Regions from separate parts of the Homo sapiens genome. Here region 2 is linked to region 1. Evidence: promoter capture Hi-C in human tissues and cell types (Jung and others, 2019). All regions are on one chromosome and are shown on one strand. Each heading gives the region's core, a stretch centred on a gene start or on the middle of the fragment in contact. The rest is flanking DNA. Distances are from core to core; before and after follow the strand shown.

Evidence for each region. The method cuts DNA at HindIII sites, captures the fragments that hold promoters and counts their contacts. A contact is called where the count stands out against the background at its distance.
Region 2: a contact is called between a fragment that was not itself captured here and the fragment with the promoter of KCNA7 in region 1, in 1 of the 25 tissues and cell types used here (dorsolateral prefrontal cortex).

The regions. Positions count from the first base shown.
Region 1 is chr19:49,070,785-49,075,757 of GRCh38, reverse strand. KCNA7 (potassium voltage-gated channel subfamily A member 7) reads left to right here and starts at 3,059. Exons shown (of 2, transcript NM_031886.3): 1 at 3,059-3,727; 2 at 4,880-4,973. The coding sequence starts at 3,173. RefSeq lists a silencer at 1,541-1,700 and enhancers at 3,167-3,666, 3,667-4,168. The HindIII fragment of the contact is 9,200 bases long and covers 2,949-4,973 here.
Region 2 is chr19:49,343,430-49,348,402 of GRCh38, reverse strand. It overlaps TEAD2 (TEA domain transcription factor 2), which reads left to right. Exons shown (of 13, transcript NM_001256660.2): 10 at 1,040-1,213. Among named protein-coding and RNA genes, the nearest start is that of CD37, 11 kb to the right of the region's middle. The HindIII fragment of the contact is 5,882 bases long and covers 1-4,888 here.

The sequences.
Region 1 (4,973 bases), core at 1,810-4,309:
AAAACCTTGTCTCTACTAAAAATACAACAATTGTAGGGTCCAGCCCCACAGGGTCGGTGGGTTTTTCTCCGTTTGCAGAGACGAGAGATTGTGGAAATAAAGACACAAGACAAAGAGATAAAAGAAAAGACAGCTGGGCCCGGGGAACCACCACCACCAAGACACAGAGACCGGTAGTGGCCCCGAATGCCTGGCTGTGCTGATATTTATTGGATATAAGACAAAGAGGCAGGGTGAGGAGTGTGAGACATCTCCAAGGATAGGTAAGGTCCCCTGGGTCACGTATCCACTGGACAGGGAGCCCTTCCCTGCCTGGCAGCCGAGGCAGAGAGAGAGGAGAAAGAGAGACAGCTTACGCCATTATTTCTGCATATCAGAGACTTTTAGTACTTTCACTAATTTGCTACTGCTATCTAGAAGGCAGAGCCAGGTGTACAGGATGGAACATGAAAGCGGACTAGGAGCTGAAGCACAGCATCACAGGGAGATGGTTAGGCCTCTGGGTAACTGCGGGTGAGCCTGACTGATGTCAGGCCCTCCACAAGAGGTGGAGGGGTAGAGTCTTCTCTAAACTCCCCCAGGGAAAGAGAGACTCCCTTTCCTGGTCTGCTAAGTAGCGGGTGGTTTTCCTTGGCACTGAGGCTACCACTAGACCATGGTCCACTTGGCAACGGGCGTGTTCCCAGACGCTGGTGTTACCGCTAGACCAAGGAGCCCTCTGGTGGCCCTGTCCAGGCATAACAGAAGGCTCGCACTCTTGTCTTCTGGTCACTTCTCGCTATGTCCCCTCAGCTCCTATCTCTGTATGGCCTGGTTTTTCCTAGGTTATGATTGTAGAGCGAGGATTATTATAATATTGGAATAAAGAGTAATTGCTACAAACTAATGATTAATGATATTCATATATAATCATATCTATGATCTATATCTACTATAACTATTCTTATTTTATATATTTTATTATACTGGAACAGCTCGTGCCCTCGGTCTCTTGCCTCGGCACCTGGGTGGCTTGCCGCCCACAAACAATTAGCCGCGTGTGGTGGGCGCCTGTAATCCCAGCTACTCCAGAGGCTAAGGCAGGAGAATTGCTTGAATTCAGGAGGCGGAGGTTGCAGTGAGCCAAGATCGCAACACTGCACTCTAGCCTGGGCGACTGCAAGACTCCGTCTCAAGAAAAAGAAAAAGAAAGAAAAGGCCGGGTGCAGTGGCTCACGTCTGTAATCCCAGAACTTTGGGAGGCCAAGGCAGGCGGTCACGAGGTCAGGAGTTCGAGACCAGCCTGGCCAACATGGTGAAACCCTGTCTCTACTAAAAATACAAAAATTAGGTGGGTGTGGTGACGGGTGCCTGGAGTCCCAGCTACTCAGGAGACTGAGGCAGGAGAATCGCTTGAAACTGGCAGGCGGAGGTTGCAGTGAGCTGAGATCACGTCCCCACACTCTAGCCTGGACAACAAGAGGGAAACTCCTCTCAAGAAAAAAAAAAAAAGAAAGAAAGAAAGAAGAAAAGAAGAGAGAAGGAATGGAAGGAAGGAAGACAGGAAGAGAAAGAGTGCCAGGATTAGCAGGGCGTTCGAACCCTTAGTACCTACCTCTCTCCACACCCCCAGCAGAGGGCGACCAGGACTTCTTTCCTGGGAGTCTCAGTGATCAAACCCCTCCACTTCCCCCAAGCCCATCTGATGGAGCTATTTTTATGCAGTGTCACCGGACACCAGTGGCTAGAAGGCCACCGTCTTGTCTCTGCGCCCTTCAGTTCCTGAAAATGACCCTGTGGCATCTCCCCGGCCCACACCCCCAACCCCCGCCCGTTCCGGCAAGACCAGACTCCTTTTGCCAGAGTCATAGCCGCAGCTCAGGTCCTGCTAGGTCTCAGAAAGTCTTGCGAAGAATCCAGGTGGAGACTCTGGAGCGAACTCTGGGGAGAGAATGGGGCGTGTGTGCACATGCTCAGTGGTTTGCAGCTGCCAGAGTGACCCTAGGATGGGACAGCCACCGGGACTGTGGCAGCACCCACATGGAGTGATGGTCAGGGAGAGATCAAGAGATATGACTCCGGAGACCCTAAGTCCTCTAGAGACCCCAAGGGGAGACCCAAAGGGGAGCGGCCGAGGAACCCTGAGACAGAGACATGGAGGGCTAAGAGATAATGAGCAAAAAGAGACCTAGAGAGGAGAGACAAAGAGACCAAGAGAGACAAGAGATAAACGGAGACAGACCAAGAGTCAAAATAAAGGCGGAGACCGAGACGTAGAGGCTGGCAGAGGGACCCATACAGAGGCCCCCAGAACGACGAATCTCAGAAATAAATGACCCATAGAGATACTCAGAGATACATCCCAAAAGAGACAGAGACCCAGAGGGGACAGCCGGACACAGACACACAAGAGAGTGAGAGACAAAGGTGCAAACAGGGCGACTCCAGGCCGGGCGCCGTGGCTCACGCTTGTAACCCCAGCAATTCGGGAGGCCAAGGAGGGCAGATCACTTGAGGTCGGGAGTACCAGACCTGCCTGGCCAACATGGTGAAACCCCTTCTCAACTAAAAAAGAAAAAAGAAAAAAAATTAGCTGGGCTTGGTGGCGCCTGTAATTCCAGCTACTAGGGAGGCTGAGGCACGAGAATCGCTTGATCCCGGGAGGTGGAGGTTGTTGCAGTGAGCCGAGATCGCGCCACTGCACTCCAGCCCGGGCGACAGAGGGAAACTGTGTCTCAAAAAAAAAAAAAAAAAAAAAGACAGAAAGAAAGAAGAAAGAGAAAAGAAAAGAGGCGACTGCAACTGAAGCCTGATTCTGACGAAACACACGCACACGGAAACTTGGAGAGACGCAGGACAGGATCCCGGCGGCAGAAGGACGGAGAGAAAGGGGACCCCGGGACGGGAAAGGCGCAGAGCAGGCGCGGGCGGCGGCGGCGGCGGGGCAGGGCAGGGCGGGCGTCCCGGCAGAGGGCGCGCGGTCGCCCTGTCGCCCTCCGCCCCGCCGGGGTCACAGTGCCCCCTCCCTCGCGCCCTAGCCGCCCTGCCGGGCTATTTTTACGCGCGGACACCGGACACCGGACACCGGGCTGGGGCGGCGGCGGCGGCGGCCGAGGCGGCCGAGGCGGGGCCGCACCGGGGCCGGGCGTCGGGGCCACACGTCGGTTCGCGGGTCGCCGGGGCTGCGCGCGCCATGGAGCCGCGGTGCCCGCCGCCGTGCGGCTGCTGCGAGCGGCTGGTGCTCAACGTGGCCGGGCTGCGCTTCGAGACGCGGGCGCGCACGCTGGGCCGCTTCCCGGACACTCTGCTAGGGGACCCAGCGCGCCGCGGCCGCTTCTACGACGACGCGCGCCGCGAGTATTTCTTCGACCGGCACCGGCCCAGCTTCGACGCCGTGCTCTACTACTACCAGTCCGGTGGGCGGCTGCGGCGGCCGGCGCACGTGCCGCTCGACGTCTTCCTGGAAGAGGTGGCCTTCTACGGGCTGGGCGCGGCGGCCCTGGCACGCCTGCGCGAGGACGAGGGCTGCCCGGTGCCGCCCGAGCGCCCCCTGCCCCGCCGCGCCTTCGCCCGCCAGCTGTGGCTGCTTTTCGAGTTTCCCGAGAGCTCTCAGGCCGCGCGCGTGCTCGCCGTAGTCTCCGTGCTGGTCATCCTCGTCTCCATCGTCGTCTTCTGCCTCGAGACGCTGCCTGACTTCCGCGACGACCGCGACGGCACGGGGCTTGCTGCTGCAGCCGCAGCCGGCCCGGTGAGAGGCGGGGCGTGGGTGGAGACGGGCGGGGTTTGGGAGGAGATGGGCGGGGTCCAGAGGGGACCTGGCCAATCATAAGGCGGGGCCAGGGGCTGCGAGGGGTGGGCCAGCCGAAGACAGGGTGGGCGGGAGGCGGGGCCTGAGGATCCGGGTCGGAGGACCTGCCCCATCAGAAGGTGGGGTTGAGGTCAGTGAGAAACCCGGCGTGAAGAGGGCAGGGCCCTTGATGCAAGGGGTAGGAGGACAGGAACCTTAAAAATCACAGCTGAGGGGGGCCAAGGAGAGCCTGAAAACTCCGGAGTCTGTGCGGCTGGGTGGTGAAAGCCAGGCCCTGAATAACTCCAGCTGAGGGTGCTGGAGCCCGAGGGGCGACAGTAGGAGGAATCTATGGAAAGAAAGCCAGGTTGAGGGGCCAGAGGAGGGGGCCTAGGGCTCGGCTTGCAGAGAAGGTCTTTTTTTTTTTATTTCCTGTGAGACAGAGTCTTGCTCTGTCGCCCAGGCTGGAGTGCAATGGCGCTATCTCGGCTCACTGCAAGGTCTGCCTCCCGGGTTCAAGCGATTCTCCTGCCTTAGCCTCCCAAGTAGCTGGGATTACAGGTGCAGGCCACCACGCCCGGCTAATTTTTGTATTTTTAGTAGAGATGGGGTTTCACCGTGTTGGCCAGGATGGTCTCTATTTCCTGACCTCGTGATCCGCCCGCCTCGGCTTCCCAAAGTGCTGGGATTACAGACGTGAGCCACCGCGCCCAGCCGCATTATACTCTGGGCTGGGACTGTGGAGGGCAAGGAAAAGCTAGGCACAAGGTGGTGGGGCCAGGGCAGGGATGCTCCCCATCTAGAAAATCAACACTGGAGGCGGGACTTTGAGAGAGAAGAGGTTGCACCCTACTCAAACATGAGTTCCCACGCATGAAGGGGCAGGGACCACGTCTCCAGCCACCCACCAGGTCAGGCAACCAGAAAGTCAGCGGCCCAGGGATGATCCCTGGGATCCTGGGAGGAAGTCTGGGATAACCAGGTCACGGAGGGCCTTGGCGCAGCGGCTACTGACCAATGTGTAAAGAGGAGCTGGGTATTTAAATGATGATTAAGGCTGTCCCCGTGTCCTAGCCCCAGCCTGACCCTCCCTGAACACTTTCCTCCCTGCAGTTCCCCGCTCCGCTGAATGGCTCCAGCCAAATGCCTGGAAATCCACCCCGCCTGCCCTTCAATGACCCGTTCTTCGTGGTGGAGACGCTGTGTA
Region 2 (4,973 bases), core at 698-3,197, 270 kb before region 1:
AGGACATCATTCATTCATTTATCAAACGTGTTTGAGTTTCTACTGTTCACTAGGCTTTGTGATGCATACTAGGAACTTGGAAAAGATTTTATTTCTGTGCTTGAGCTTCTCCTGGGCTAGGATGGAGTGGGCCGACTGTTAGAAGAAACAGCTCCTAACTCTTAGGGACTGAATGCCAGATAAGTTGCATGTAACATTTCAATGTAGGTTCAGCAGGAGCCTTGGACTCAAGTGATTTGGGGATCCAGGCTCCTTCCATTTTGTGGCTCTGCCATTTTCTAAGGCTTCAGAATCTGCTGATGGAGTCTCTGCATCTGGCCAGCAGATGGAGGAAGGGAGAGAGTCAAGATTGTGCAGGAGGTTTTAGGAATCTGACTTGGATGTGTCGACTCTCAGGCCTGGTCACATCCCATTGGCCAGAACTTAGTCATGTGGTCACACCTAACTGCAAAGCGGCCTGGGAAATGTAGTTTCACACTGTGTAAAGGAACCAGGATTTGTGAACACGTAGCAGTCTCTGCCACACCATATAAACATCAATCAAAACATCAACCACAAGACCTCTGTGGATTCCCATTCATTCACTCTTCCATCCATTGACCATTTATGAGCACCTGTTCTATATAGGACCAGGCCTAGGGGGTGTGAGCTTTGCCCTGGGGCTGCTGGGGAGCTATGGGAGGGCCATGACCAGGGGAGGGTCAGGGGCAGGTCTGGAGCCACATGAGGGATGAACTGGAGAGGCGAGGTTGGAGGCTGGGGTGAGGGTGGGAGGCCTGAGGTGAGGCTGAGGCAGTGAGGATGGAGTTGGGGGAGTTGTGGCAGGGAGTTGGGGACTGTAGGACTGCAGGGCTGCAGGGGACTGGGTGCAGAAGCAGGAGTGGGGACGATGGGTGGCAGTCAGGCCCAGTGCTGGGTGGACTGTGTGGAACAGCTGGCCAGAGCTGTGGGGATGGTGACGGCATTTGGTGGGCTCAGGCAGCACAGGCTGGAGATCCAGCTCACCTCCGACTTCTCACCCACGGCCAACCCTCCTCAGTACCAGAGGCACCTGTTCGTGCACATCAGCCAGCACTGCCCCAGCCCCGGAGCGCCGCCGCTCGAGAGTGTGGACGTCCGGCAGATCTACGACAAATTCCCTGAGAAAAAGGGTGGCCTCCGAGAGCTATATGATCGTGGCCCCCCCCATGCCTTCTTCCTGGTCAAGTTCTGGGTGAGTTCTCACAGCAAAATCAAAAGTGCTCACAAATCCTGTGGTGTCCCAGCAAAGGCCTCTGGCCCTGAGAGAATCTGTCGCGGGCCCTACCAGGTCAGCCTGGGACTTACCAGTCAGTCCTCATGGCTTGGAGTGTCAGCCCCCTTTGCAACAAGGAACACCGAGGAGGCCAGCCCCCAGGGTGGGTTGGAGGTGTCTGGGCCTCCCTGGATCCCACTAGACATTGCCACATGTAACTAATACGGTGAGTTACCTGGCCATGTAGCTAATAGGGTCCTGGGCATGGGCTTGCCATGTTCCAGGCTTCCCTGTGCCCCACCTGACTGCACCAAGCCGTGCTGCTAAGGAAAGACCCCTCCCCGTAGCCAGTGGACTTGTGGAGACTGGTTTCTAAAGAGGGGACTGATGCTTTGCATCAGTTTCACCAGACCTTGTTGCTAGAGAATGTCTGGCTTTGAGGAAGTGATGAAAAGAGCCATGGAGTGGCTTTGCCAAGTCCTGTATTCATTTATTTGTTTATTTATTTATTTTTGAGACATAGTCTCACTGTCACCCAGGCTGGAGTGCAGTGGCTGTATCTTGGCTCACGGCAACCTCCGCCTCCTGGATTCAAGCGATTCTCCTGCCTCAGCCTCCCCAGTAGATTGGACTACAGGCACCCGCCACCACATCTGGCTAATTTTTGTATATTTAGTACAGACGGGGTTTCACCATGTTGGCCAGGCTGGTCTTGAACTCCTGGCCTCAAATGATCTGCCCACCTTGGCCTCCCAAAGTGCTGGGATTACAGGTGTGAGCCACCGCACCCGTCCAAGTCCTGTATTTATGTAGCAATCATTTATTGAGCACTTCCTATATAGACGCCTGGTGTCAGCTGCTATTTATATGATTGGGACTAAGAGGGCCCATCTTGCGTGTTTCTTAGGGCTACTTGGTTTGGTGTCCAGTATGATGACTAACACTACAGGGGTTCAATAAATGTGTTTTATTTTCTTTTATTGTTTTTTTTTTTTTTTTTTTTGAGATGGAATTTTGCTCTTGTTGCCCAGGCTGGAGTGCAATGGTGCGATCTCGGCTCACTGCAACCTCTGCCTCCTGGGTTCAAGCGATTCTCCAGCCTCAGCCTCCCAAGTAGCTGGGATTACAGGCATGCACGACCATGCCCAGCTAATTTTTGTATTTTTAGTAGAGACGGAGTTTCGTCATGTTGGCCAGGCTGATCTTGAACTCCTGACCTCATGTGATCCGCTCACCTTGGCCTCTCCAAGTGCTGGGATTACAGGCATGAGCCACTGCACCTGGCCTAATTTTTGTATTTTTAGTAGAGACAGGGTTTTACCATGTTGGCCAGTCTGGTCTCGAACTCCTGACCTCAAGTGATCCACCCACCTTGGCCTCCCAAAGTGCTGGGATTACAAGTGTGAGCCACAGTGCCTGGCCTGGGCTCAATAAATGTTGCCTGGATGTTTAGGGGGTGCTAGTTCTTATAGTAACAAAGGTGGTGGAGGGATCTAGTCTCTGAGAAGAAAGCCTGGCTAGGTGTGGTGGTTCACTCCTATCTTCCCAGCACTTTGGGAAGCTGAGGCGAGAGTTTCGCTTGTGTTCAAGAGTTTGACACCAGCCTGGGCAACACAGTGAGACCTCAACTCTACAAAAAATGAAAAAAATTAGCTGGGTGTGGTGGTGCGCACCTGTGGTCCTAGCTTCTGTGGAGGCTGAGGCAGGAGGATCACTTAAGCCTGGGAGGTGGAGGCTGCAGTGAGCCAAGATTGTGCCACTGCCCTCCAGCCTGGGTGACAGAATGAGACCCTGCCGAAAGAAAGAAAGGAAGAAAGGAAGAAGGAAAGAAAGGAAAGAAAAGAAAGAAGGAAAGAAAGAAGGAAGGAAGGAAGGAAAGGAAGGAAAGGCCTGCTGAGGGCCTGAACTTTACTGTTCTTGCTGGGAGTGTTGTTGTTCTGGAGCTTGCTGTTCACGGTTCTGGAGCTTTCTGCCATGTGAAGCAGAAGCCTGAAACTGCTCTGGGGATGTGCAGCTGAGGGCTTAGACATTGTTGGGGCTTAAGACAGGCCTTATCAGGTCCCAGGACTGGAGAGCCACCCCCTTAGGAAGCCCAGCTGCTGAAGGGGTTCAGAGGAGCAGCTGGTAAGGTCTTTGGTTTTGCCACGGTGAGAGATGGAGTCGGGCCCCTGAGAAGACGGACCTGGCACAGTGTTAGCAACTAAAGTTAGGAAGAGGAAGAGGTGCGCCTCGCAAGGAGGTGACTCAGACCAAAGGTGTGATGAGCTCTTAGGCTTCCTTAGGCCCCACTTGGCCTAGTGACACTTGGCCAGCTGTCTACACACACTTGGCCACTGGGGTCATGGAGGGAGTCTGACCTCTCAGATTTGGCCGAGGGGGAAGTGCTCTGAGGAGGAGTCAGGCCTCCTCAGGCTCCGTGAGGTCCCGTTGCTAGGGAGTAGCCACTTGCCTTAGCAACCAGAGTGAGAGGGGCTTAGAGGGAGGTATTCATCTTGAACTGGTTGCTAAGAAGTAACTGCCATAGTAACCAGGCCCTTGGAAGGGGCTGAACTCTTGAGTTGCGGGCTTCAAGGGAAAAAGGTTGAATTGGCTGGACACAGTGGCTCATGCCTGTAATCTCAGCACTTTGGGAGGCCTAGGTGGGTGGATCACCTGAGTTCAGGAGTTTGAGACCAACCTGGCCAACATGACAAAACCCTGTCTCTACTAAAAATACAAAAATTAGCCAGACATGGTGGCGTGCGCCTGTAATCCCAGCCACTTGGGAGGCTGAGGCAGGAGAATCGCTTGAACCCGGGAGGCAGAGGTTGCAGTGAGTCAAGATCGCGGCATTGCACTGGGCAACAAGAGCGAGACTTCATCTCAGAAAAAAAAAAAAGAAAAGAAAAAAGGTTGAAATTGAATTCCAGGGCTCCTTTGGTTACTGGGGAGACAGGGCCAAGACTGTTTTGGGGACCCAGACTTCTTCAACGCTGATGGACGGTGGATCTTCTCCAGAAACCAGCCCTTGGAGAACTTTGAAAGCCTGACGCGGTGGCTCATGCCTGTAATCCCAGCACTTTCGGAGGCCAAGGTGGGAGGATCGCTTGAGCCCAGGAGTTGGAGACCAGCCTGGGCAACATGGTGAAACCCTGTTTCTACAAAAAATACAAAATATTAGCTGGATGTGGTGGCATGCACCTGTGGTCCTAGCTACTCAGGAGGCTGAGATGGGAGGATCACTTGAGCTCAGGAGGTCGAGGCTGCAGTGAGCTGTGATTGTACCACCACACATTGCCTGGGTGACGGAGCAAGACCCTGTTCCCCCCCCCCCAAAAAAAAAGACAAACAAACAACAAAAAAACAAAACAACACTGAAGAATCAAGCCGGGAACTGCAGGGGTAATGGTAGGCTATGGGGCAGAGTCCCCACTGTGTTTTTTTTTTTTTTAAGATGGAGTTTCGCTCTCGTTGCTCAGGCTGGAGTGCAATGGTATGATCTCGGCTCACCGCAACCTCTGCCTCCCGGGTTCAAGTGATTCTCCTGCGTCAGTGTCCCAGTAGCTGGGATTACAAGCATGCACCACCACGCCCGGCTAATTTTGTATTTTTAGTAGAGATGGGGTTTCTCCATGTTGGTCAGGCTGGTCTTGAACTCCCAACCTCAGGTGATCCGCCCGCCTCGGCCTCCCAAAGTACTGGGATTACAGGTGTGAACCACTGCGCCTGGTAGTCCCCACTGTTTATAAGGGATGTCCCC